Linked DNA regions of Homo sapiens: all the other regions are linked to region 1. Evidence: promoter capture Hi-C in 16 types of primary human blood cells and fetal thymus (Javierre and others, 2016). All regions are on one chromosome and are shown on one strand. Each heading gives the region's core, a stretch centred on a gene start or on the middle of the fragment in contact. The rest is flanking DNA. Distances are from core to core; before and after follow the strand shown. Region 1 holds the start of LINC02453 (long intergenic non-protein coding RNA 2453). Region 2 overlaps NEDD1 (NEDD1 gamma-tubulin ring complex targeting factor). Region 3 overlaps NEDD1 (NEDD1 gamma-tubulin ring complex targeting factor). Region 4 overlaps NEDD1 (NEDD1 gamma-tubulin ring complex targeting factor). Region 5 has its middle 86 kb from the start of NEDD1.

Region 1 (2,826 bases), core at 155-2,654:
AACGGGTTTAGGATGACACAAATTATCAAATTATCCGATTAGTGCACTTTCCTAACCCATATGTTTAATCAGTGGCACATCCTGGTTTTGAATTATTTAAACGCATTATTATTTAGCCATTCACATACTTACGTTTGTCACTTCCAGTTAAACTGTAGCCACCTACAGAGAGCGAAACAGAAGTCGGCTGATAAAATTTTGATAAAATTTCATTTGCCCGCAGCTGGTCATTTCATTGGGCGCTTTTGTGTTACAAAAGTGTGTGAATTGGCCGGGCGCGGTGGCTCACGCCTGTAAATCCCAGCACTTTGGGAGGCCGAGGCAGGTGGATCACTAAAGGTCACGAGTTCGAGACCAGTCTGGCCAACATGGTGAACCCTCCCCCCCCCCACACACACACACACACCCCGCGTCTCTAGTAAAATACAAAAATTAGCCAGGCATGGTGGTGCGCGCCTGTAATCCCAGCCACTCGAGAGGCTGAGGCGGGAGAATCACTTGAGCCTTGGAGGTGGAGGTTGTAGTGAGCCCAGATCGCAACACTGCACTCCAGCCTAGGGGACAGAGCGAGACTTCCTCTCAAAAAAAAAAGACTTATGAATTGTTTGAAGAGGCACGAGACCGTGGCAACCCTAACTGTCCCCGACATCTGGCAGCCATATGCTATCCTTGAACTTGAACTTCAGAGTGAAAGTATAAATTTGTAAGGGGAAGGCTCAGCCGCAAGTCACATACCAGTGGTCAGTTAAAAAAAAAAAACTCAGGACGGCAACCTAAATCATTTAGAACGCGTCAAGAGCCTCGGAAAAACTATTTTCACACACTTCTCTAGCACTAACATGGGAAGCGCGTTTCCTTCACATATTCCACACCTTTTATTCTTCCCACCAACATCAAGAATACAAAGCGCCCAGAGAGGACAATAAGCCTAAGCAGCGGCTCCAAGAGACCGGACTTTCGTACTTCCCGGGGGCAGGCGGAAGGTTACGGAGCGCTGGAAGGATCTTACTGCTCCTTGAAGGGCTGTCTGAGAAAATACACAGCCTAACGACTCCTCGTTAGTATAGTGGTTAGTATCCCCGCCTGTCACGCGGGAGACCGGGGTTCAATTCCCCGACGGGGAGGTGTGTAGCTGCACTTTTTTGGCGACAGTTATTATTTTCTGTATCATTCAATGACAGGACACTGCTGTTAAACATAATATGCTAAACCAGCTCCCTTAAGTGCACAACCCTGTCTTCAAAATGGTGACTTTTAACCTTAATGCCCACCATGAAGTGAAAGCCTCCCCTGAGAGAAAATGCCTTACATTGTTTGCAGGAAGGGAGGAAAGGGAAAAAGAAAACGCTCTGAAGGCCTCTGCCCTTGCCTCCAGCCGCCATCTTGCGAAGGCCTGCGCCGGCTTAGTGGCGCCCCGCCAGATTACAACTCGAGGTCGCGAACTCAGCGCGCGGAACCTGTTGGGGGAGGGGAGAGAGGGCGGAGTCTCGCGACTAACGGGGCGGGGGCAGGGCGGGTAAGAACGGAAATCATTTGGTAAAGAAAAGGAAGGGCCAATTTCCTTTGATCCTGGAGACCCGACTAAACGGGAAGCCCCGTTCTCCCGCTTCCGCTGGTTACGTCCCAGCCTTGGTTAGAGGACTAGCAGTCAGGAAAGTTTGGACGCTGAAGGAATCGGTCTCCTGGTCCGACAGATACTGGGTGGAGGGGCAGAGAGTAAATGGAAGAGAAAGACTGGTACCCCTGGAAGAAACGCCATTTACTGGTGTCCTAAGAAACTGCGCGAGCCACAGCCCAGCAGGACCTCGTGGCGCAACGGTAGCGCGTCTGACTCCAGATCAGAAGGCTGCGTGTTCGAATCACGTCGGGGTCAAACTTTTTTTTTTTCCTCCTGTATTTTAAACTACCGACTACTAGAAGCCGAGGTGTATTCCTGCCGCCAATTTTCTTGAATGTTAGAATTAAGTTTTCCTCTTTCAGGTATTATGATACTAATCCTTGGTTTGCAGGAAGATATGATTTACTCTATATCGAAGAGCCTCAAGGCTGATGTTTTTATCATTTGGCCTTTTAAAGTGAGTTTTTTTGTCACTTAACATGCATAATGTGTAAAGAGGTGGACTATTACTGCTGTGCATTAGTGGGTGTATCAGTCCACTAGTCTATCACAGGAAGTGTACAATATACTGTACAAGCTGTTTTTTCCAAACAGTTTTAGGCTGTTTGCCTTTTGAAAGAGAGTACAATAGTGTACAATTTCTAATTTTGAATATTATGCTAATCAAGTGTCTTAGCCCTTACCATGTGCCAACACTGTGAACAACCTCACAATGTGTGACTATTATCCCACTTTTACAAATGTGGCTGTGGCTCACAGGGTTAGTGACCTGCCAAGGGTCACCCAAGATTCTGAACCAGGTGAGGGACTCTGGATCCCTCTTTATAAATACTTTATAATAAAGGTGGAAACAAACAGTTGAAAGAATGTGTGACTGCCAGGCTCAGTGGCTTACACCTGTAATCCTAGCACTTTGGAAGGCCAAAGTGGGTGGATCACGAGGTCAGGAGTTCAAGACCAGCCTGACCAACATGGTGAAACCCCATTTCTACTGAAAATACAAAAATTAGCTGGGCATGGTGGGGTGCACCTGTAATCCCAGCTACTCCGGAGGCTGAGGCAGAAGAATTGATTGAACCCGGGAGGCGGAGGTTGCAGTGAGCCTGGGTGACCAAGCAAGACTCCTTCTGGAGGTGGGTGGCGGGGAGGAATGTGGGAAAAGCTGTTGGACTGGGCGCCTTTTATGTTTTCACCGATTATGCGAGTGA
Region 2 (2,826 bases), core at 221-2,720, 1.6 Mb before region 1:
GGTCCACATAGTATAGATTCCAAGAATGGGGTTAATGTGAGACACCAGAGAGATTAGTTTTTTGTTTCTTGTCCTTTAACTTACGTTCCTCACTTTCTCATGATTTCTAAAACTACAAGAGAAATAAAAAAGAACTAGATTACCCACCCACATTATGTTTCAGTCCTTTTTTTTCTATATTCTAAGGAGAAAAGTAGTGGTAAACAGGAAGAAGTCAAGGAAAGGGAAATGGTTTTTCTCGCTATGGTAATATCTAGGTAGGAATGATTTGATTTGCATCATGTATCATAATAAAATTACAGTCTATGCTCTGTTTACAAAATACCTGAAAGTTATACAGAACATTCAAAAGTTAATGCAGTTAGGGATTCTGAGTGTCTAATTAACCTTTCTCCATTGCTTTTACTCACAGATTTTAATTGCTAAAAAGCACAGATTTAAACTTCTGATATTTTAATTTGTTATGGCTCTCAAAATCAGACTCTTATTCTTAGTTATATTATTGTATTTAATCATTTTAGTTTTAAAATAGTTACTGTTTTGTGTTTACTGATTGTTCCATTTACAATTCGTGTAAAAGAAGGTAAATAAAATTACATTTTATTTAAAAATTAAAACTCATAACACAATTCCTATTTAACCATACATATTTATAAAATATTTGCAAGTTACTGTAATAGTCATTCTTAATTTAAGATTGAAACATTCTATCACAAAAATTCATGTTCTGGGAAAATATCAGGCCTTTTTTTTTTTTAAATAGAAAAATAGGAGACTAGTGTGGATGTTTGCTTCCTAGTTTAGATTGTTACCAAGCACTAGGTTAATAAATATCTTGAACAGTTTCTGTAGATGAAAAGGTTGATTGATATTTGCTGATGCTGCTTTTATCATGCTCTCATTCTTGAAGGATAAAATTAGCCCTTCTGGCCTACTCTTTGAAAACAGAGTAGTATTTCACGTGGGTTAAATAGCTTTTGAGTGATAGCAGAGCCAGAAAGAAGGCTAGTTCTTCCCTGCAGTAGTAGCAAAGAGAATTAGTCTTAGTAATTATTAATAGTAATGTGAGCCATTTTTGAAAGCTACTCTGTAAGCTATACTCATTGCTTGTCTTCTTAGTGTGTTAGCTTTTATAATCGCAATTCTTATAATAGTCTAGTGCTATAGATGTTCATGGATTGTTTGATGCTCCATAACTCCTCATTTAGATAACTTTTTAGTAACAGCATCTTCCAGTGGCGACAAAATAGTTGTCTCAAGTTGCAAATGTAAACCTGTTCCACTTTTAGAGCTTGCTGAAGGGGTAAGTGATTTTTTTTTTTTTTAAACTTTTAAAAATCTTAGTTTTGCTTGACTGGCAATTGCTTATTGTGGTGCTTGCGACTAAATATAAAGGTTTTTAAAAGCATTATTTTTAACTTAAGCTCAAAATAATATAGTAACACTTAAAAATGAGATATGTGTACTTACTAAAGTATTTTTAGGTAAAATAGTTTTGAATATAGGGGAACAATTGAAGACTTGAATTTTGTTGACTAGGCACTTCATTTCTCCATTTTCCCTCAGTGGGAGAGGATCTCTGTTGCTGCTATTTTAGGACGATATCCCACATAGGTTACTAGGTTGACCTGAGCATATAAACTCTAATGACACAGCACTGCTTTACTGATCTTGGGCTCAGGACCATCAGGAACAGACTCACAGCTGATGGTAGCTCTCTGCTTCAGATTCTGTCCACCTGTACTGAGGGGCCTGTCTGAGCCTCCCCCATACTCTCCTTAAACAGGTTGGCTTTGTCAAAATGAGCTTAGGTCCCAGGGCGTTTAAATGAAGCTCTCACTACGTACTGTTGCCTTATCCTTTTTTTTTTTTCTTTTGAGATGGAGTCTCGCTCTGTTGCCCAGGCTGGAGTGCAATGGTGCAATCTTAGCTCACTGCAACCTCCGCCTCCCCAGTTCAAGCGATTCTCCTGCCTCAGCCTCTCAAGTGGCAGGGATTACAGGTGCCCACCACCACGCCTGGCTAATTTTTGTATTTTTAGTAGAGACGGGGTTTCACCATGTTGGCCAGGCTGGTCTTGAACTCCTGACCTCATGATCCGCCCGCCTCAGCCTCCCAAAGTGCTGGGATTACAGGCATGAGCCACCACACCCAGCCTATCCTTTTGTTTTATAAGTTAATCCCTCTGATTAAGGATAATACTGGCTTCTTCATTTCTAGTCACACACTCTTTGAAAGCTATTTCTTTTTTAAATAAGATAAGATTTAAATAAAAAGATATGGTAGTTGATAGCTTTTTTTTTTAATTTCAAAGTTTTTCTAGCAGATCTTAAATTATTATGAATTGTCATAATTTTACACACTGGGATAGGTAAAGTAGCCCAATTAGAAAGAAAACAGCAGGACAACTGAATAAAAGCTCAACTAATTTAAAGAGGACTCATGATTTTTATCAATCCTCTCCTAAAGGTATCCAGTGGGATTGACCTGAACTTCAGTTCTAACCCACAGATGTTGGAGACTGGGACAGAGGGAACATGTGCTAACAGTAGAAATGGAGTTTGAGGCACTCTGTTTAACCTGACTTAAGCAGAATCAAGGCATAGAATGTCTCTGGTCGATAAAGGCAGACTGAAGTCTTCAAGAGCAGGCAAAACATCTTAACCATCTTTGGATCTTTGTATCCTAAGATGTTCAAAAAACTTGTTAATGTCAACATCAAAACAATTTCAACTTCTACTCTACCACTATATATATGTACTACTGTTATGCATTATGCCTTAGGATCAGTGAATCAGTATTTGGGAGCTTTTTTTTTAAAGTATA
Region 3 (2,826 bases), core at 218-2,717, 1.6 Mb before region 1:
CAAGCTGCAGCCTTTTCCAAAGCAATTACAAATGTCAATCTATTGTATTGATTCCTTAGATTAAAAAATGATCTTTAAATGTAGGTTTTCTGTGACATTTCAGTATATGTTATTCAGTATATGTTAAATCCATTTGCTTTTCCTAAATGAAATGTTTTATGTATAGATTTTGTAAGCATTAATAGTCTGCTTGAGTATGGAGATCTGATAAATGTAAATATTAATTACATTTTTAGAAATAATAGTTTTCTCAAGAATGAATCTATTCTAAATTGGTTTATTTCATTGACTGGTTATATTTATACCAGAATTGCAGCACTCAAAAACTTTGACTACAAAGACTTTTTATCTAGAAGTGGTCTTTTTTATGTTATATAGGAGCATTGGTATAAAATGTTTATATGATAACATTTCTTTGATTCTCTATATATTTCTGTAGTATTGGTATACACTTGACTAGCCTATATAATATGTTCTTGAGCAATTTTATAATTGACATGTAGGCATAAAATAAATGGATAATCTGTATATTTCTTCTTAAAGACTTTTCTCCTTCTATTTTTCTCTTCTAAATTTTCTTCAGTAGAAAGCTATTTGAAAGATGTTTTCTAACAGTGTTTCTATGTATAGCTCTGTCTTCTGTCCATATAGTTATACTCATTCTGTTTGTCCAATCATGTTTTCTGCCTGTTCTCATTAGTGATCTACCCTGGGTATCCTCATATTATTAGTCTTCATAACCATAATTTTTAATGACTGGATGTATTTCATTATTCAATGCCATCATTTACCTAAAAATCCTCTATTGTTTTATTTTCCAAATTTTTATAATAAATGAGCACATGTTAATATTGTTTTCATAAGTATGTATCTTCTGATTTTTGATTCTTTTCTTTGAGAGTACAAGTTCTCTTTCAATGTAATTTAGTAGCAGGCTTACATTTCCTTTAAGGAGCTTAAGTGTTACCCTATTATCTTTGGTCTCAAATGTGTGACGTGATTTCATAGCTTTTGAAACCCTTTTAAGTCACTAGTTTTTTATTCCTAGGTTATTCAAAGGAATTTTTTTTTTCTTTAAAGCCACGTAATTTTTCTAGAATATGTCTTGATGTTGGTCATTATGTATTGCTATTGTTAGGTACATAGTGTGTTTCTTTTTTTTTTTTTTTTTTTTTTTGAGGCAGAGTTTCGCTCTGTCACCCAGGCTGGAGTGCAGTGGCACTGTCTGGGCTCACTGCAAGCTCCGCCTCCTGGGTTCACACCATTCTCCTGCCTCAGCCTCCCGAGTAGCTGCGACTACAGGCGCCTGCTACCACGCCTGGCTAATTTTTTGTAGTTTTTGTAGTAGAGATGGAGGTTTCACCACGTTGGCCAGGATGGTCTCGATCTCCTGACCTCGTGATCTGCCCGCCTCGGCCTCCCAAAGTGCTGGGATTACAGGCGTGAGCCACCACCCCCGGCCCATAGTGTGTTTCTTAATATGTAGTTTCAAGTCTTTTTTTATTTTTGGAAATTTTTCTTAAATTATAATTTTTAGTATTCTTTTTCTCTCTTTGGATTTTTTGTTGTTGCATTTTCTTTGCTTATCTTCAGTGGTTTATCATTTTTTCTCAAGTGTTTTTAAACTTTTTTGTTATTTCTTTTTGATTTTTAAAAATTTCTTTTTAACCTGTCTTTAAGGTATTGTCTGTTGTGTTTATTCATTTTTGAATTCCTTCTAAATTAGCCTTCATTTTTGAAGAGATTTAAAAAATTTCTAATTCTTTCCCAAGTTCTGACATCTCTTTTCTGAGTTTTAAATTTATGTTTTTTTTCTTAATGTCTTGTATTTTTTTTTTCCTTAATGTCTTGTATTTTTTTTTTCTTTCTGATCTTCTGTTGAGAACGTTTTTCTCCTTGTTCTCTTTGTTTTCATAAGTTTGTGTGGGATATATCTGTGAAATTAGTTTTAGCTTCCCTGAACTTCTAGACAAAAGGAGGTCAAAGTGGCTTTTCTAACTTCACAGAGCTCCCTATTGTTTTCATGTATACACACACACACACACACACACACACACACACACACACACACACATATGTGTATATATATATATATATTTTTTTTTTAATGGCTGCTTGCTTTCTGGGGTTCCCTGACTCTGCTCTACTTTTCCACCTGTCTGTGAACCTTTGTTGCCTCCATCCTGTTCAGGTTTGCTTCCACTTCTAGCAGATCTCCTCAGTGTGGGGCTCTGACCTGAGAGGGACACACTTTGGCTGGTCAGTTTTGGAATTCTCTGGCTAAACTGCTCTTGTCTTGACCTTCCTGCAAACCTGTAGCACAGACCTGTTAATGAAGTGGATATTCTGGGTTTTGACTGAGGTTGTAAAATTGGCCACCATGCTTTTCTGTGAATACCTTTTGGCTGTTATGGGCTGCTTCTGTTCTCAGATCTGTCACAGATTCCTTGTTATTCCTTCTACTTCCTTCTGCACAGACACCAGTACCATGAAGGACTTATGGCTGTTAATTGTTTGACCTCTCAGCATGTGTTTGGGGGTTCATGGGGATACCTCATCATCTAGTTTGTTGTAAATGTTGTCCGTGGGATTTTAGTTTTTGGTCATCTAGTTTATTATCTGTTGTAAAACACACACACACACACACACACACACACACACACACACACACACACACACACACACTCTCTCTCTCTCTCTCTCTCTCTCTCTCTCTCACACTCTCACATGCTGTGTTGGGGATTTCTAAGACCAGATTTGGTCATTCTCTAGGAGAACTCACAGGATTCTGTATATAGTCATACTCATGGCTATGATTTATTTTAT
Region 4 (2,826 bases), core at 327-2,826, 1.6 Mb before region 1:
TTTCATTGTAAGATAAGTTTGTGTCTTAATGACAATTTCTATATAAAGGAATATAGTATCGGAGAGTTCAGGGGTTAAACAGCCTGGGTTTACATCCTAGCTCCATCATTTACTGGTTGTGTGACTTTGAACAAGTTATATCTACTCTGGTTAAGTTATTTCTTTTGTAAAATGGACCTGTAATAATTGCATCTACTTGTGAAGATATTTTAAACGAGTTCTTACATTTAAAGTAAAGGAAACAGTGCCTAGCACATAGTGAATAAATGCTCAGTGCATTGGTATTTTTATTATTATAGTAATTATTAACATTCAGTAATTTGGCAAATGAAAAAGTTTAGTGAGTTTCTTGAATGACCTAGAATTGGTTAAACTATTGTAATTCTAAAAAGTATTTTACATTCTTCCTAGAGAAGCATGCCATAGGGACATTGTGAATTTGCAAGTGGAGATGATTAAACAGTTTCATATGCAACTGGTATGTATGGCAAATTTTATTTTAATATTTTAAATGAAAGTAGAGTTGTGTGAATTTTTAAAAATCCATGAAAGGTAATATATTTTAGTTGTTTTGTTTAGTTTCTAAGATAAATAGGGAGTTTTATAGACTAAATAAGTAAAATAGATTTTAACTGGTCACCTCCTTTTTAACCTCTGAGATACTTAAGCCTTCTTTTTTCCATGGCTTTCTTCCTGATAAGTAAGCAAAAAGCATTTTAAATGTGCAAATATAAATTTTCCAAATATACTAATTTCACCAACGATCTTCCATTTATATTAACAAACTAGTAAGTTGTTAAGTACAAGAAATATCATTCACCTAGTTAATTGAACATGAGAGAAATGATAGCTGAAAGTATATTAAACATAGCCTGCCAAATAAATGTGAAATATCAATAATTTAAAAAGCATTTTCCTGTTTTTCTAGAATGAAATGCATTCTTTGCTGGAAAGATACTCAGTGAATGAAGGTTTAGTGGCTGAAATTGAAAGACTACGAGAAGAAAACAAAAGATTACGGGCCCACTTTTGAAATTTCAGTGAATACCTTAATGTTCTGTAATTTGGGAAGTTTCTGGCAACACAGAACTACATAGAATCAGTATTGTTTTCATGGCCTCCAGGGAAAAAATGTTTTTCAAGTAAGAGTAAAAGGATGATGGGATTTTATACCAACAACTGTTTCATCTTAAAAATATGTATATTTTTATATTAAAAATTGTACAGTATGTCATCTACCCAATAGGAAAGTCAACAGGATCTTTATTTTTTGAAAGCTTTAGCCATCCACTAAGTGCCCTTTTTCATAAGAGAAGAAAATTGTGCATAAAAATTGGTTATGTTTGTTTTTTAGTCATCTTTTTTAACATATATTTTTGATTGACAAATTGCCTTTCAAATTTTTGGGGCTAGTTGAGATTTAAAGAGTTTGATATGCCTTCTATTTTTATGGAGAAAGTAATTTTAAAATGGCAATTGGTGTTTCTAAGCCATTGACTAATAAAACATAGGGTTGGCTAGTAATTATTTTGTTAACTTGATGAAGTCAAGTATGACTATTATTTATTGTACATTTGATAAGACAATTTTTGGAATTTTGAATTGCACAAATTACATGATATCTTTTGCATTTATGTTACTATATTGTACTTCTGACAAATCTTTATTCCTGGGTGGTATTTTTAAGATATCTTTACCTATAAAAAATGTTTAAGGTTCATAGGACTCGACAAGAGCTATCTGGTGATTTTCTCATTAGTAACATGCAACGTTGTACTGCAAAATTTCAATCAACATGACAACTTATAATGAGTGGAGATTTCATATTAGGTACTAAATATTATAGTATTATTTCTATTTTCTTTTTCCAAATAAGAAGCTTGGATTATTTTATTTTGTGGTCTTTATCATTAACTTTAATTCTTTCTGTACTGTGTATAATATTTTTATATTATTGGCCTTACCATAAAATTATTTAGAAAGGTTGTCAAAATAAGTTATACCTCTTTGGCAATAGATAGATGTATACATCTACCTACTATGATCTACAATTTTAGGTTAAGTGAAGCTTGGGGGGGCTACTGACTTGGTTACCTTCTTGTCTCTTGTCCCAAAGATTTAAACTGTGTACCTTTGTATAGCTCTTCTGCCCCATTTTGACTTCTGAGATGAAAGTATTTACTAAAATTAAAAAAAAAAAAACAAAAAACAAACCTTTAGCTCACTAACTTTATGGGTTTCTGAAGTGATGGAAATTTTTAAGGATATATTTAATAAGCATAAACTTACTAATAATTACTTCCAAAAATAAAAACAGGAATATTACTTTTACCCAGTGTGGTTTATAGCATACATTTGTACTGAAGCATATAGGGATGTTAATGTGATCTTTTCCTGACAGATTATGAAAGCATTATGACTTGTAACAAGTTTCCTTGTATATCACTAACAGGTTTAGAAGACATAAATATTAGTGTGTTTTGCCTACATGGTGTATTTAAATCTATTAATATTTTCCTGTTGCTTTTTTAAAAAAATAAATACACATAATGTATATTAAAAGAGGTGGGATGAAATAATTTTAGTAATTATGTGTACAGATGAAACATTTTTGTCATGGAATTTAAAAGCTAAGTAAGTATAAAAAATAAAATGTTATATGCAAAAAATAGGAAACATGAAATTGAAATTTCATTGTTGGCCAAAATGATATGAGAGATTTACCTTCCCACCTGAAATTAAAAAAGAAAATATGTGAAACAGTTGTCAGATATTGATCCTTGAGAGAAACAAATGAGACCTAAGAAACTCAATGAACCTCAAACA
Region 5 (2,826 bases), core at 197-2,696, 1.5 Mb before region 1:
TCAGCACACAAATTCTAACCATAAAAGCTTTGTGAAGGACTGATACAGCATTTTGATGCATTACTTTTTCTATGATTTGTTTTCAAATATTTTTTAATTCCATTTTTTTTTTCTGTTCTCTGAATACACAGGCTAAAAAACCATAATCTTTTTCAGCTTTCTACTTACCAATATTGAAATGCACAGCAAGCGCTAATTCCTCTATCTTTTGGAAACAATATCCCAGTTTCTGTTTTGGAAACTAATCCATCTTTTCTTTGTGTTATAGGGTTGTATATCAAGGTACCTGGCCTTTTGTAAGCCATGAGGTGGGCAGTTGTTGATTAAATCTAAGCCAGTGGTTCTCACCTGGGGGTAATTTTGCCTACTAGTGGACACTGGGCAAAGTCTAGAGACATTCTGTCTCAGCTAGTGGGGGTGCTATTGGCATCTAGTGTGTAGAGGCCAGGGGTGCCACTCAATACCCTACAATGCACAGGACAGCCACCCCCACCCCCCGCCACCCACCACAAGGAATTTTCTAGTCCAAAATGTCAGTAGTGCCAACAGGACCTTCTCCTCTGGAATTCAGAAATTTCAATGATATGATATAAGCGACAAACTCAAAAAATGACTTGACTTATTTATTTGAGTAGCAATGCCTAGTTAAGACTGTCAAGTTGGGCCTGATAGCTAGACCTCCTCAGACCTTTCTTCATTCCTACTTTTGTGTGTGCTGGGGTCTTCAGTCTTTCAATCTATTCTCCACTTTACTCGCTTTTGATACAGTCTTTTTTCCCTTTGATTATCCAGGGATATTTTCTGTTGCTTGCAATCAAAGAACTCTAAAGTGATGTGGAATAACCGGCAGTTGGTTAACATACATGTGTCAACTGGCACCTTCTAAGTAGACAGTACCTTACAAATCCTAAATATGGTTCTTATGTAGCTTTCTGGTGGTTGAGGGTCAAATTAGAGCAAGCAGAAGCAGTAGAAAAGAAATCCACATACATATTTGGTTTCTTGCCTTGACCTCCAGGGACCTAAGGCAAGCAACCACTGCAATAATGAGCAGAATCAATAAAGCAAATGATTGCCTGATAATTCACTCCAAAGCAAGGAAATAAAACATTTTCCAAGCTGGTAGGGCATCAGTGGCTGCAGATCAAGTGAAAATCCTGAAGAGCAAGATTAAAAAAAAAAATAAAGTGACTTACCATCTTTTTAACAATGTCTGCCTTTGACCTCCTTGGGCTGTTTTGCACAATATCTAAGCTACGGGCTGCAGATAAATAATTTCTTTTCTTTTAAAAAAGTAATTATTCTCATTTTAAGCTTCATTTTAAAATAATGAAAGCATAGATGATAGTACCTTACTCACAGGCATAGAAGTTTTCTTTAAAGATTTTTAAACTCAGGGCTGACACTGAGCTTGGCGCTGTATTTTATTAAACAGGAGAACCTTTTTTCAAATTAAGATGATCCAGTGAACATATCATTTGATTGCCACAGCTAGAATAGGGACTGTACGCAGCTACTTGCGTCTGTTTAGCTGTTGGAGACCTTGGGGGCTGCCTTGTAAAAAGACCTGTTTTGTTGGAAGCTTTTCTTTCACTAAGTGCATGGATTGGAATATGTTAAACTGTTCTTCAGTGAACAAAATCATAAAAATATGTGAGCATACAAATAGAGGATTCGTGTTTGAGATCTCATGAGGTTCATTGTACTTCCAAGACAGGCTTTCTTTTTTTTAAGGTGCCAGCAAAATGCCACGGTATTTTATTTTTGTCTCCGGTAAATTGCTCTGGAAACTTAAACAAATTAAACATCCTGTTTTGTGTTTCCGAGACTCACTGGGGAAACTCAGTCTCTTTAGTCTGAAGTTTCAGGAGGGAAGGAACATCAGAATATAAGATATTGTTTATAATCACCTTTTTGAAATGGTTATGCCTATGCTGGCGTGAAGGGAGGTACATGGGCCATTCAGTATCATCTCAAAGAAGCAGTTCTGTTTATTATCTAAAGAAAAAGAAAACAAATGTGAAGTTTTTAGAGGTGTAAGAGTGTGTGTGTGTGCGTGTGTGTGTTCTGTTACGCTGTACAATGCAAAATCTGTTCTGTTACTGTTCATATTTTAGAAATTGATTTTTAATATAATAGTTATACTCAGTTAAAATCCATTGTTCAAGCCATTTTGAGACAAATTTAAAAGTAAATCTTCATAAAGGAATAATTAATGATCATCATTCCAACCAAGGCAACATGACAGAAATTAACAACTAAAACTTAGCAGTTGCCTTTGGAATTTAATGGGGTTCTGTCTTTCTTGAGTTCCCAATTACTGAAAAATATTTTCCTCCATTGCCCATGTTGGTTAAATGGAAACAACTACCCTTCCCTCCCCAACATTCAATGGATTTTTCTGGATCACAGTATTGCTTCCCTTTGATTCCTTCCTGCTTAGAAGAATGAAACAGTCTGGAAGGCCGGACAGCTGGGCTTGTGCCCCTCGACCTGAGGGGTAAAATTAGCTTAAGTGGCTAATTTTAGTGCTTCCTGCTTTCAATGGGGTCTTCTTGACAATAGGAACTGTCTGGCTTGGTTGCTTTTCATGAAAACATCTTAACCTTCCAGCTTGCCCCCACCTGCTTGAACTCTCAGTTGAAATATTACATTTAAAGGCCAAACAGAACCCAAATGAATGGATGATAGCAGCACCTTTCAAATGTCACTTAAAAAAAATCTATGAACTGAAAGCTCAAGTCCTTTGGGAAGGAACAGAAATGAACTAACTGTCACCTTTCTCCTCCCTCCTCCCTCTGCAGAGATATTGGCTTTCACTTTCTC

The links. The method cuts DNA at HindIII sites, captures the fragments that hold promoters and counts their contacts. A CHiCAGO score of 5 or more calls a contact.
Region 2: a contact is called between a fragment that was not itself captured here and the fragment with the promoter of LINC02453 in region 1, in 5 of 17 cell types (total CD4 T cells, activated CD4 T cells, naive CD8 T cells and 2 more). The highest score is 10.2, in total CD4 T cells.
Region 3: a contact is called between a fragment that was not itself captured here and the fragment with the promoter of LINC02453 in region 1, in 1 of 17 cell types (naive CD8 T cells). The highest score is 10.7, in naive CD8 T cells.
Region 4: a fragment that was not itself captured here is called in contact with the fragment with the promoter of LINC02453 in region 1 in 1 of 17 cell types (naive CD8 T cells); the score reaches 6.7 in naive CD8 T cells.
Region 5: a contact is called between a fragment that was not itself captured here and the fragment with the promoter of LINC02453 in region 1, in 1 of 17 cell types (total CD4 T cells). The highest score is 6.6, in total CD4 T cells.

The regions. Positions count from the first base shown.
Region 1 is chr12:98,502,451-98,505,276 of GRCh38, forward strand. LINC02453 (long intergenic non-protein coding RNA 2453) reads right to left here and starts at 1,405. Exons shown (of 4, transcript NR_038383.1): 1 at 1,310-1,405; 2 at 133-162. TRD-GTC1-1 (tRNA-Asp (anticodon GTC) 1-1) reads left to right here and starts at 1,053; the gene lies at 1,053-1,124. TRW-CCA4-1 (tRNA-Trp (anticodon CCA) 4-1) reads left to right here and starts at 1,802; the gene lies at 1,802-1,873. RefSeq lists enhancers at 1,143-1,452, 1,463-1,762. The HindIII fragment of the contact is 12,452 bases long and covers 1-2,826 here.
Region 2 is chr12:96,911,515-96,914,340 of GRCh38, forward strand. NEDD1 (NEDD1 gamma-tubulin ring complex targeting factor) reads left to right here. Exons shown (of 16, transcript NM_152905.4): 4 at 1,209-1,303. Among named protein-coding and RNA genes, the nearest start is that of NEDD1, 5.7 kb to the left of the region's middle. The HindIII fragment of the contact is 4,151 bases long and covers 1-2,826 here.
Region 3 is chr12:96,927,528-96,930,353 of GRCh38, forward strand. All of the region lies in intron 6 of NEDD1 (NEDD1 gamma-tubulin ring complex targeting factor), which reads left to right. Among named protein-coding and RNA genes, the nearest start is that of NEDD1, 22 kb to the left of the region's middle. The HindIII fragment of the contact is 6,422 bases long and covers 1-2,826 here.
Region 4 is chr12:96,951,021-96,953,846 of GRCh38, forward strand. NEDD1 (NEDD1 gamma-tubulin ring complex targeting factor) reads left to right here. Exons shown (of 16, transcript NM_152905.4): 15 at 412-478; 16 at 929-2,760. The coding sequence ends at 1,033. Among named protein-coding and RNA genes, the nearest start is that of NEDD1, 45 kb to the left of the region's middle. The HindIII fragment of the contact is 602 bases long and covers 1,276-1,877 here.
Region 5 is chr12:96,992,242-96,995,067 of GRCh38, forward strand. No RefSeq gene overlaps it. Among named protein-coding and RNA genes, the nearest start is that of NEDD1, 86 kb to the left of the region's middle. The HindIII fragment of the contact is 268 bases long and covers 1,313-1,580 here.